Linked DNA regions of Homo sapiens: regions 1 and 2 are each linked to region 3. The links are contacts of gene promoters, found by promoter capture Hi-C in blood cells and fetal thymus (Javierre and others, 2016). All regions are on one chromosome and are shown on one strand. The core of a region is centred on a gene start or on the middle of the fragment in contact, and the rest is flanking DNA. Distances in the headings are between cores, read along the strand shown.

The links. Contacts are between HindIII fragments. The CHiCAGO score rates a contact against its expected background, and 5 or more counts as called.
Region 1: a contact is called between a fragment that was not itself captured here and the fragment with the promoter of HSPB2 in region 3, in 2 of 17 cell types (erythroblasts and neutrophils). The highest score is 5.5, in erythroblasts.
Region 2: a fragment that was not itself captured here is called in contact with the fragment with the promoter of HSPB2 in region 3 in 1 of 17 cell types (neutrophils); the score reaches 6.7 in neutrophils.

The regions. Positions count from the first base shown.
Region 1 is chr11:112,167,777-112,171,771 of GRCh38, forward strand. TEX12 (testis expressed 12) reads left to right here. Exons shown (of 5, transcript NM_031275.4): 2 at 1,477-1,555; 3 at 2,643-2,754; 4 at 2,847-2,898. The coding sequence starts at 1,493. Among named protein-coding and RNA genes, the nearest start is that of TEX12, 2.4 kb to the left of the region's middle. The HindIII fragment of the contact is 1,422 bases long and covers 1,467-2,888 here.
Region 2 is chr11:112,206,474-112,210,177 of GRCh38, forward strand. The region is part of intron 8 of BCO2 (beta-carotene oxygenase 2); the gene reads left to right. It also overlaps the pseudogene MRPS36P4. Among named protein-coding and RNA genes, the nearest start is that of PTS, 18 kb to the right of the region's middle. The HindIII fragment of the contact is 1,552 bases long and covers 493-2,044 here.
Region 3 is chr11:111,911,484-111,915,177 of GRCh38, forward strand. It overlaps HSPB2 (heat shock protein family B (small) member 2), which reads left to right and starts at 1,251. Exons shown (of 2, transcript NM_001541.4): 1 at 1,251-1,440; 2 at 1,958-2,610. The coding sequence starts at 1,347. The coding sequence ends at 2,412. It overlaps CRYAB (crystallin alpha B), which reads right to left and starts at 287. Exons shown (of 3, transcript NM_001289808.2): 1 at 41-287. The coding sequence starts at 241. It overlaps HSPB2-C11orf52 (HSPB2-C11orf52 readthrough (NMD candidate)), which reads left to right and starts at 1,253. Exons shown (of 5, transcript NR_037651.1): 1 at 1,253-1,440. RefSeq lists an enhancer at 2,002-2,655. The HindIII fragment of the contact is 6,880 bases long and covers 330-3,694 here.

The DNA.
Region 1 (3,995 bases), core at 928-3,427, 260 kb after region 3:
GGCCTTGAGCCATGACAGGAAAACGAACTTATTTTTGCAGAAACAGTTACTTGATTATAAGTTTTCGTTTGACATAGGTGCACAGTGTTACTTGGGGAGAGAAGAGAAGGGGGTGAAGGGGAAAGGGAAAATTAGAAGGGGAAGGGAAGAGAGAAAAATCTGCCTGTTGGCTTCTCTGAAGTATTTTCCAACTCCCAAGGCAAAGTTAGCACTGCTGTGCATGTGTAGTATTTTCTAGATACTATTAATACTATTACAGCACGTAAACTTACATACTATAAAGGTACTGGCAGGAATGGAGACGTACGATACAGAATTTACTTAACAAGCATCATTCAAATTTGTTGTTGCTCTTTCTGTCTTCTATATATGCATATTTTATAGGACTAATCAAACAGATGTGTTAAAGTTACCCAAATCAGCATCGTTTCTCAAAAACAACAAAGTCAATTGATAACTTGAATATGGACAGGGCTCCCCTCATCTCAAAGACACAGAGACTATACCCTTCCAGGTTTCAACATTTGGACTCCTAGGGAAAATCCCTTCCGAATTTATGGAAAAGTAAAAGTAAAATTTGAAGCTACTTTAAAGTAAGGTTGGACAGTGGGAATAACCTCAGACTCGAGTGAGATCTCGGTTCTAATTTAGCTCAGTCTTACTGGTGTCACTTGATCCACCGTCACTGTCCCTGTTTTCTCACTTGTAAAAAATGAGATTGAATTAGATGAACTGTAAGACCTGTTTAAACATTAAGATTTTGTGAAGATAGAAGAATCCTTTTTTTTTTTTTGAGGTGGAGTCTCGCTCTGTTGCCCAGGCTGGAGTGCAATGGCACAATCTCGGCTCACTGCAACCTCCCTCTCCTGGGTTCAAGCGATTCTCTCACCTCAGCTTCCCAAGTAGCTGGGATTACAGGCGCCTGCCACCACGCCTGGCTAATGTTTGGATTTTTAGTAGACACAGGGTTTCACCATGCTGGCCAGGCTGGTCTCGAACTCCCGACCTCAGGTGATCTTCCTGCCTCAGCTTCCCAAAGTGCTGGGATTACAGCCGTGAGCCAGCGCGCCCGGCCGAAGATAAAAGAATCTTAACTGAGCCAGTCCTGAAACAAGGCAGAATTGCCAGAGAGACTCATTTGGCTAAGTACATAGAGAGGAGTAGTTGAAAATGATGGGACTAGTAGGCTTGCACCAGATAATACAGGACCTTGAAGGCCATATCATGGAATTTCAACTTATTCTGGAACAATGAAAGTTTTTGAGTTAAAGGAATGCAGTAATCAAAGTTTTGAAAGATTACCCAAATAGCAGTTGATAGAATGATTTAGAGGAGGGAGAAATTGAGTTTAGGAAAGTGACAGATAATGACAGTCTAAATTAACATCAGCAGTAGGAGTGGGAAACAGGGAAGGATTCCAGAGAGCTTGTAGCATGGAGTTTGTACCTAAATCTGGCATTGTTCTAAGCTTTGTAGCTGGTGCCTTCGGAATATGATGGCAAATCACCTTGTAAAGCCTGATAATAGAAATTGCAAGAGGCCAAGAGAATTGGAGGTAAGCTGTATGCCTATGGAGCCTTAATCTTTTATTCTGTTTTACATACTACTCAAATTTCTTCCCTTTAAGAAAGCTCTATAGATAAGTGGGATTTAATGTATTCGTATGCCCAGAGCTAGGATTGTCCTACAACATAGGAGGAACTATGTTGATTCCAGCTGCTTTTTCACTAAGTATAGGCCTCCAAGAAACTATTGGGAGATTTCTTTTTGGTAGCTTGAGATCTAGAGACAGAAGTGAGTCTGTGCCTTTATGATCCATAGGATTTTATGTAATTATTTTGCTGTGATAAGTAAGATAACTAGGTACTATAGTTACTGATCTTTTTAAAGAGCACAGTATCCTGTCTTTTACTACTGCCCCCACCAGTTGATCTTTTGCATTTGGGACATGATTTGCTCCCTTGAAGATTATATTATTTAGCAAAATTTCACAAGCATTTGGCTACTGTCTAAATTACAGTTTAGCTTCATTGCTATGAAAACATCTACTGGTTCAAGATACCAGACGCTTTTTCAACAGGAGTTTAAAACCACATTTAAAGTCTAATTTAAGGCTGGGCGCATTGGCTCATGTCTGTAATCCTAGTGCTTTGGGAGGCTGAGGCAGGAGTATCGTTTGAGGCTAAGAGTTTCAGATCAGCCTGGGCAACACTGCAATACATTGTCTCTGAAAACAAAACAAAACAAAACAAAATTAGCTGGGCATGGTGGAATGTTCCTGTAGTCCTAGCTACTCAGGAGTCTGAGACAGGAGGATCACTTGAATCTAGGAGGCTACAGTGAGCTAAGATTGTGTCACTACACTTTGGCCTAGGTGACAGAGCGAGAACTTGTCACAAAAACAAACAAATGAAAAGCAAAGTCTAGTTGAAAACCAAAATAAAATTTAATATATTGAGCAAGGTGTTTCTTGGGCCTGTAAATTTCCTTAATAATAAAAACTCAAATGACTAAGTCATATGCTTTCTAGCATGTTTGCCTTTTTCTGAAAAATGTTTTATTTGCTTTTTCTTAATAAACAAAATGTATATGTCCTGAAGATCTTATTGACTGTACCTGTTTTCTTTATTTTGTCCTGTTAGTCTCCAGTGCCAGATAGTCCACAGCTGTCCTCTCTTGGAAAATCAGATTCATCTTTCTCTGAAATTTCCGGACTATTTTATAAAGATGAAGCCTTGGAGAAAGATTTAAATGGTGATGTATAAAATGTTTATATTTCTAAACATCAGTCTTATAATGCAGAAGGTTTGTTATATTTTATAACTTAAATGATTTTTCTTGAACAGATGTGAGCAAGGAAATTAATCTAATGTTGTCTACCTATGCAAAGCTTTTAAGGCAAGTACTTATAGTATATTCTCTGGGGTCTTTATGTTAGTTTTCTTCTGGAAACTCTGTATTGGGAAGTTTAATTCTGTGGCTGCCAAACCTCTCCAGTAATTAAAACTTTGGAATTTTTTATTCTACCTCAGTCCCTTATAATAGATTAGTTGGTTATTTTCAGGGAATAGCGTCAACTTTTCCACTAAAAATCCTTTCTTTTTTACTCTTGCCAAGCTAATACTAGACTGTATATATCTTGGTCTGTAATTAGATGACATTACATTTTAAATTTTATGTAAATACCTCTTTGAGAAAAATGTTTGATGAAATTAATGATAACAGACTGATATTAAAGATAAATATTTATGTCATAGAGAGTCAGCCTTTCATATCCATGAATTCTGAATCTGTGGATTCAATCAACCACACATTGAAAATATTTGGAAAAAAAGGGTGGTTGTGTCTGTACTGAACATGTACAGACATTTTTTTCTTGTCATTATTTTTCAAACAATACAGTATAACAACTGTTTACATAGCATTTACATGGTATTGGTCTTATAAGTAATCAAGAGATAATTTAAATTATATGGCAGAATGTTCTTAGGTTATATGCAAATACTATGGCATTTTATATAAGGGACTTGAATATCTATGAGGGATGTTCCTTTGGTATCTGTGGGGGATTCTGGAACCAATACCCCATGGATACTGAGGGATGACTGTATTTATATTTTACCTATATCTATTTTAAGACCAAATTTAAATACTTTATTAGCCTAATATGTTTTATGAAGTGTTTTTTTTACACTGCCGGACAGTCATTATACTTGGATAGTGGTTTGTGTGGCTGTAAAAATAATGTATGTAATTGAATATTAGTGTTATAATGTATAAGATACACTTCCTGTTGTGTCAGGAGACCTTTTTGAGTAGTCAAAAATATTTGTGGGACTAATTTTTTTTTCTGAAGAGTATTAGTAAATTAATGAAGTTCTGTGGCACATAAAGCCATTTAAATGAAATAGTTAACAAATATTGTGTAATGAAGAACAACATAATGATGTTGTTTATATCTACTTAGTTTAATATACAACTTTTTTTCCTATTAG
Region 2 (3,704 bases), core at 19-2,518, 300 kb after region 3:
TGAGGCCAGGTGTGGTGGCTCACGCCTGTAATCCCAGCACTTTGGGAGGCCAAGGTGGGAGGATTGCTTGAGCCCAGCAGTTCAAGATCAGCCTGGGCAAGATGGCAAGACCTCATCTCTACAAAAAAATTTAAAAATATACAAATTTTGAGTATAATTCCTTATTGGATATGTGGTTGCAATTTTTTTCCCCAGCCCATAGGTCGCCTTTTCGTTTTGTTGATTGTTTCCTTTGCTGTGCAGAAACTTTTAAATTTGATGTCAACTTGTCAGTTTTTGCAAGGAAAAAACCTGATACAATATTGCAACTGTAGATCAATTTGGAGACAATTGACATCTTTACAATATTGAGTCTTCCAATCCATGAACATGGAATATCCCTCCATTTATTTGGGTCTTTTAAAATTTCTCTCAGTAAAGTTATAGTTTTCAGTATAAAGATACTACATTTCTTTTTGTGTGTTTTGAAATTATTGTAAATGGTATCTTTTAAGCTTTCATTTTCTGTTTGTTGCTCTTTATAGAAATGCAATTGATTTTGTATATTATCTTCATATCCAGAGATCTTGCTAAATTCACTTATTAGTTCAAATAGTTGATCCACAGATTATTTTGGATTTTCTATGTGCACAGTCATGTTACCTGAAAATAATGACAGCTTTCTTTCTAATACTTAGGGCTTTATTTCTTTTTCTCGCCTTACTGTACCAGCTAGGACTTCGAGTTGAATAGAAGTGCAAGATAGTGAATAGAAGTTGAATAGGTAGTGTTGAAAAATGTTTAATAATTCATTATTAAATATAAAATTGCTATAGGTATTTTTCTAGCTATCTTTATCAGATTATCCTAATAGTGCCTTTTAATGAATAAACATTCTTAACTTAATATGGCCCAGTATACAGTCTCTTCCTTTATGACTTATACGTTGTACATCTTGTTTTAGACATCTTCTCATGGCAAGGTAATGAAAATATTATCCTATGTTATCTTCTAGAGAAGTCAAGTATCTGTATATGCATTATTCTGTTTCTGGACTGTATATTCTGTTCCATTGTTTCTACTTATGGTTACTTGTGCACTGCATTAAAAAAGTCTTAAGGTTTAGTGTCAAGTTATCCTAATATTTTTCTTTTGAAAAGAGTGTCATGGCCATCCCTGGCCCTTCACGTTTTTGTAGAAATTTTAGAATCAGCTGTCAGTTCCCCACACAAAAATATGGTCACATTTTAATTCTATTTGCACTGAACCAATGTATCAATTTGAGAGAGGACTAACCTCTTTACACAATGTTGAGTCTTCCAGTACGTGAACACAATATATCTTTCCATTTATTTGAGACTTCTTTAATTTCTTTCAATGTTTATAGTTTTCTGGTTACATATTTTCTGCATCTTTTGTTAGATTTATTCCTAGGTTTTTTTTTTACATTATTTTAAATGTTGTTTATTTTTTGCTTTCATTTTATGTTAGTGTTGCTATATAGCAATTTTTTTTTTTTGAGACAGTGTGACGGTCTCACTCTGTCACCAAGGCTGGAGTGCAGTGGTGTGATCTCAGCTCACTGCAACCTCTGCCTCCTGAGTTCGAGCAATACTCCCACCTCAGCTTCCTGAGTAGCTGGGACTACAGGCATGTGCCACCATTCCTGGCTAATTTTCATATTTTTTTGGTAGAGATGGGGTTTCACCATGTTGGCCAGGCTGGTCTTGAACTCCTGACCTCAAGTGATCCACCCACCTTGGCCTCCCAAAGTGCTGGGATTACAGGAATGAGTCACCGCACCTGGCCGGCAATTGATTTTTGTTTGTTGATTTTATATTCACTAATATAGTAATTACACTTACAAATTCTAATAATTATAGATTCTTTTAGATTTTTACATCTATAATATCATATGCAAGTAATGATAGTTCCTTTTCTAACTCTACATGTAAGCTGTATATTGGCTTTTTTTTTTTTGTCTTATTTCACTGGATCTTCAGTACAGTGTTGAATATAAGTGATGATAATGGCATCCTTAACTTGTTCCCAATCTGAGAGGCAAAGCTTGCAGCATTTTACCATGAAGCATGCTGTGGCTGTAGATTAAAAAAATATAATAGAAACTGTCCCTTCTCGGGGGTCATGATGGGCAGCAAGATGCATCTGCTAGCAGTGTCGTTCAGGTAGTCAAGCCACATGCTCCATTAATAAGCTTCCCTGCTGGAAGAGACAATCCTAAACCCAATGTACCAGAAGCTCTGAGATCAGCAGGGCAACCATCTCACGATTCTGCAATTTCCCAGCATTCTAAGGGAAGTAAATTACTGGATTTGTGGATGTACCAGACACTGCAGAAGTAATGAAAACATTACCTCAGAAATATAGAAGTAAACTTGTGTCTCAAGAAGAAATTGAATTTGTCCATTGTGGAGATCCAGAATAATCACTGTGGCTGCTGTTTGTCATCAGACAAAAGAATTACCTTTACAATAAAGGACTTCCAAAAAAAAATAGACTGTTTTTTAGAGCAATTTTACTTTTAAAGAAAAATCAAGCAGAAAGTATGGAGAGTTTCCATATTTCCCTCTCCTGCTAATGGTACATTTGTTACAACTGATGAATCAATGTAGGAGTGTTACATTATTACTAACTAAAGTCCATACTTTACATGATGGTTAGGTCTGTGTTGTACAGTTCTACCGGTTTTGAAAAATGCATAATGTCATGTATCTACCAATATCATACAGAATAGTTCACTGCCCTGAAAATCTCCCTGTGCTCCCCCATTCGTCCCTTCCCCTTTCCTCCTCTCAGCCCCTGGAAACCACTGATCTTTTCACTATTTCTGTAGTTTTGACTTTTCCAGAATGTCACATAGTTGGAATCATACAGTATGTAGACTTTTCAGACTGACTTTTTTCACTTAGCAATATGCATTTAAGGTTCCTCTGTGTCTTTTGTGGCTTGAGAACTCATTTCTTTTTATCGCTGAAATGTGTATTCATTCATTTATTGAAGGACATCTTGGTTGGTTCCAATTCTTGGCAATTATGAATAAAGCTGTTATAAATATTTGTTAGCACGTTTTGTGTGGACAACTTTTTAAAAAGATACATTTTATTAGATTAGGAGAGTTCCCTTTTACTCCTAGTTTACTGAGATTTTTTGTCATGAATGGATGTTGGACTTTATCAACTGTTTTTTTTCTGCACTATTGAGATAATCATATAACGTTTATCCTTTATTCTGTGAACATGGTGAAGTACATTGACTGATTCTTTAAAAAATGTTCATAACAGCCATTGATTGATTTTTGAATGTTAAGCTACCCTTCCATTCCTGAAGTAAATCCCAATTGGTCGCATTTTATTTGCTTTTAAATATATTGCAGGATTTGCTTTGTTACTATTTTGTTTAGAATTCTTTGTATCTATGTTCATGAATAAAATTGCCCTTTAATTTTTTTCTTTTCTATAATGTTCTTACTAGGTTTTGGTTTTGTGGTTTTTCTAGTCTCATACAATGAGTTGGGAATTGTTCTCTGTTTTCCTTCTTTCTGGATGATATTGTATAGGATTGATATTATTTCTTAAATATTTGGAATAATTCAACAGTAAAGCCTTCCAGACTTGAAAATTTCCTTATAGGCAGATCTACAGTTCTAGAATATTGATTTGGTTCTCTTTTCCAATTTATAGTTCTCTACCACAATTCTCAGTTTA
Region 3 (3,694 bases), core at 1-2,500:
CCAGTAAGGACTCTCCCGTCCTAGCTGTGGGGAGACTCACCTCTGAGAGTCCAGTGTCAAACCAGCTGGGTGCCCGCAGGAAGGAGGGTGGCCGAAGGTAGAAGGGACTCAGGGAAGTAGACGTCGGGAAAAGATCAGACTCCAACAGGTGCTCTCCGAAGAACTGGTCAAAGAGGCGGCTGGGGGAGTGGAAAGGAAAGAAGGGGCGGCGGATCCAGGGGTGGTGGATGGCGATGTCCATGGTGGCTAGGTGAGTGTGAGGGGTCAGCTGGCTGGTCAGCTCCTTCAGCTGCAGCTACAGCCAGCCCCTTATATATGCAGTCTTGTGAAGCTTCTGGAATGGTGATGTCAGGGGTTTTATTATCCTAGCTCACCAGCAGTTCATGGAGACTTGTGATCCGGGATTTGGCAATGTGACACATACCCAGTACTCACTGAGCTAAGAAAAGAGAGACACAAACACGTCTGAGCCGGCCAGTGACTTGTCATGGTCTTGTTTCACTAGCTTTCTGTCCACACCCAATGGCACCCACCCCCACCCCTGTTCTCTGAAGCTGGTACAGAGTCAGGAATCCCAAGCAGGCACGCGGGGTGGGGGGAGGATGGGAGCCGGCGTAGTGTGCCCCTCCTCCTCCTTTCCAGTCCTGAATGCCAGGGGAATCAGGCCAGCAACTATCTTGGGCCTGGGCAGGGACTGGAATCTTCCTAGGCTGAGCCCCAGGGACATTAACTCTTTGTGAGTCCTTGGAAGAGAGCAGTGATGGTCAACATGTCAGCACCAGCCATCTGCCTCGTGCCCTGGGTTGACCTGGGTTTAGGAGAGGATCCCACATCTGGGCAGAAAGACCCCACCCCCTGAAAAAAGAGCAAACAGATTTCTTGCATCTTTCGTTCTATGTGGCTCTCAGAACATTAAATCCAGGAGTGCTTTAGGAATTGGGTGCACAGTGCCTGCCACCGAAGAGGAGAAAATGAGGTGTGGAAACGTGCAAACCGTTTGTGAGGGTCTCAGCGAGGCCTCTTCATGCCCCAGGCACCACCAGCTCCCCCTCCCCAGCTCGTTCCCAGCCAGGACCCTCAGCTGTCCTCTCAGGCCCCCTGCGACAGCTGAAGAGTGTGCGGGGGAGGGGACTAGGGGTCCGGGCGGCGCTGGTCACACCCTCGTTGCTCTCACTCAGGGCCCCCACTCCCAGCCCCTCCCCCCCCAAGAGGCTCGGCACTATTTTGGGTGGTGTCGACCCCGCCCCCACCTCCTATCGAGCCCTGGCTCTCCGGGCAGCTGGAGGGGTCGCGCTGCGCCTGTTGGGGCTGCACCTCGGACCAGGGCTTCTGCTGCATCTGCAGCCATGTCGGGCCGCTCAGTGCCACATGCCCACCCGGCCACCGCCGAGTACGAATTTGCCAACCCGAGCCGCCTGGGTGAGCAGCGCTTCGGAGAAGGTATGGCACAGACACCACCCCCTTGCCCCCCACCCCCACCCCCTGAAATTCTGGGCTGACCTCCCAACGTTGCTGGCCTCCACCCCACTCTGGGCTTAACTGATCTCCTGGGACCAGCCACCCCCCACCCCAGACTACCCCTCATCCCCTCCAAGCAGAGATCTTTCCCATTCCTGCTGACCTCAAGACACACTTGGTGCTTGCAGTGCTGATACCTGCTCTTTGCCGGCCTGGGTGTGCCTCCTTGTCCCCCTTCTATCCACCCAGGCCGTTTGGTGCCTCCTCCTCCTCCCCCTCCTCCTCCTTCTCCTCCTCCTCCTCCCTTTCCTTTCCGTTCTCTTTCCCCTCTTCCGAGCTGCCTTCTCCTCCTAGCTACAGTGTGGCCTCCCTCCCGTTCCCTACTCCTCCTGACTCCCCTCTTGCTCTTCCCAATCCCTCCTCTCCAGATTTCCCATTTCGCCCCTGTGCCAGCCTCATCCTCCCTCATCCTGCCTCTTGCCTTCTCTCTGCCCTTTAGGCCTCCTGCCAGAAGAGATCCTGACCCCCACACTCTACCATGGCTACTATGTCCGGCCTCGGGCCGCCCCAGCTGGGGAGGGCAGCAGGGCAGGGGCCTCCGAGCTTAGGCTCAGTGAGGGCAAGTTCCAGGCATTTCTGGATGTGAGCCACTTTACCCCAGACGAGGTGACTGTGAGGACTGTGGATAACCTGCTGGAGGTGTCTGCCCGGCACCCCCAGCGCCTGGACCGCCACGGCTTCGTGTCCCGAGAGTTCTGCCGCACCTATGTCCTGCCTGCTGATGTCGACCCCTGGCGAGTCCGAGCTGCTCTCTCCCATGATGGCATCTTAAACCTGGAAGCACCTCGGGGTGGCCGACATTTGGACACAGAGGTCAATGAGGTCTACATCTCCCTGCTCCCTGCGCCTCCTGATCCAGAGGAAGAGGAGGAGGCAGCCATAGTTGAGCCCTGATTGCCACAGACCCAGCACCCAGCAAATCCCTCTCTACCTCCCAAGGTGATATGGGCAGCTGCCCACCACTCCAGAGGTAGCAGCATCCTTGGGGGAAGGGAAAGGTGCATGGTCCACAATGTATGGTTTGGTCCCATGGGACATGTCATAGCCTTGGTTTAGTTTTGGGTGGAGCTGAATAAACCCAAATCTCAGGGCCTTGTTTGTACTGCTCCCTATTCTGTGGCCGGGAAGCTGGGATGGGGAGGGAGGGAGGAGGTCACAGCCAGCTAGACAAAAAGCTCCTCAGTTTGATGTGCCCAACGTCATAGGACCCTGAGCTCGCACTTGGATGCTGAGATCACACCCGGAAGCTGACTCTGGCTCCAGATCAAATTCCTAGCCATAATTTTCTCACAATGCAACAAAAGAGAGAGTGATCCTGGGAGGGAAAAGGGATATGCCATCCAAACAGCCCAGAGGGCACTGTCTGAGCTGGTGATTAGAGACACAAAAACAAGGGTCTCCAGACTGTCTGGCCCTTTTTGGGTAGGGGCTGGGAAAATGGTTTTTGGCTGGTGAGAGTTGCCTAAAGTCCTGGAGTGAATACTTTGTTTTCATGTACTAAGGTCTGTCCACTTAAATGGTCACTGATTTTGAGAGCCTGAGTATGCATACACAGGGCACAGACACAAAGCCTCTCCAATTATCACGGAACCCCATTACCTTCCCATCCTCTGGGGGTACGGTGTATTCAGGAAAGCCTGAGGTCTGTCCCCTCAGTTATTCTCTGCAATCAAGAGAACATCCAGCTACATGATTTGGGGGAAGTGTCCAAAAGACCTTCCTGCCTCCAAATACATATTTCATTAGGCTGTGGTAGATACCTACAATTCTTCCATTAAAGCAGTTGTTTCTTGGCTGGGTGCAGCAGCTCACACCTGTAATCCCAGTACTTTGGGAGGCCGAGGCAGGAGGATCACTTGAGCCCAAGAGTAAGAGACCAGCCTGGGCAATAGAGTGCAACCTTGTCTCTACAAAAAAATAAAAATTAGCCAGGCATGGTGGTGCATGCCTGTAGTCCCAGCTACTTGGGAGGCTGAGGTGGGAGGATGAGCTAGGGAGGTTGAAGCTGCAGTGAGCTGAGATTGCGCCACTGCACTCCAGCCTGGGTGACAGAGTGAGACCCTGCCTCAAAAAAATTAAATTGAATTGAATTAAATTAAGTGGTTGTTTCTTAACTTTTGGGAGTTATAGACCCTTCTGAAAATCTGACAAAAGCTATAGCTGCTCTTACCAGAAA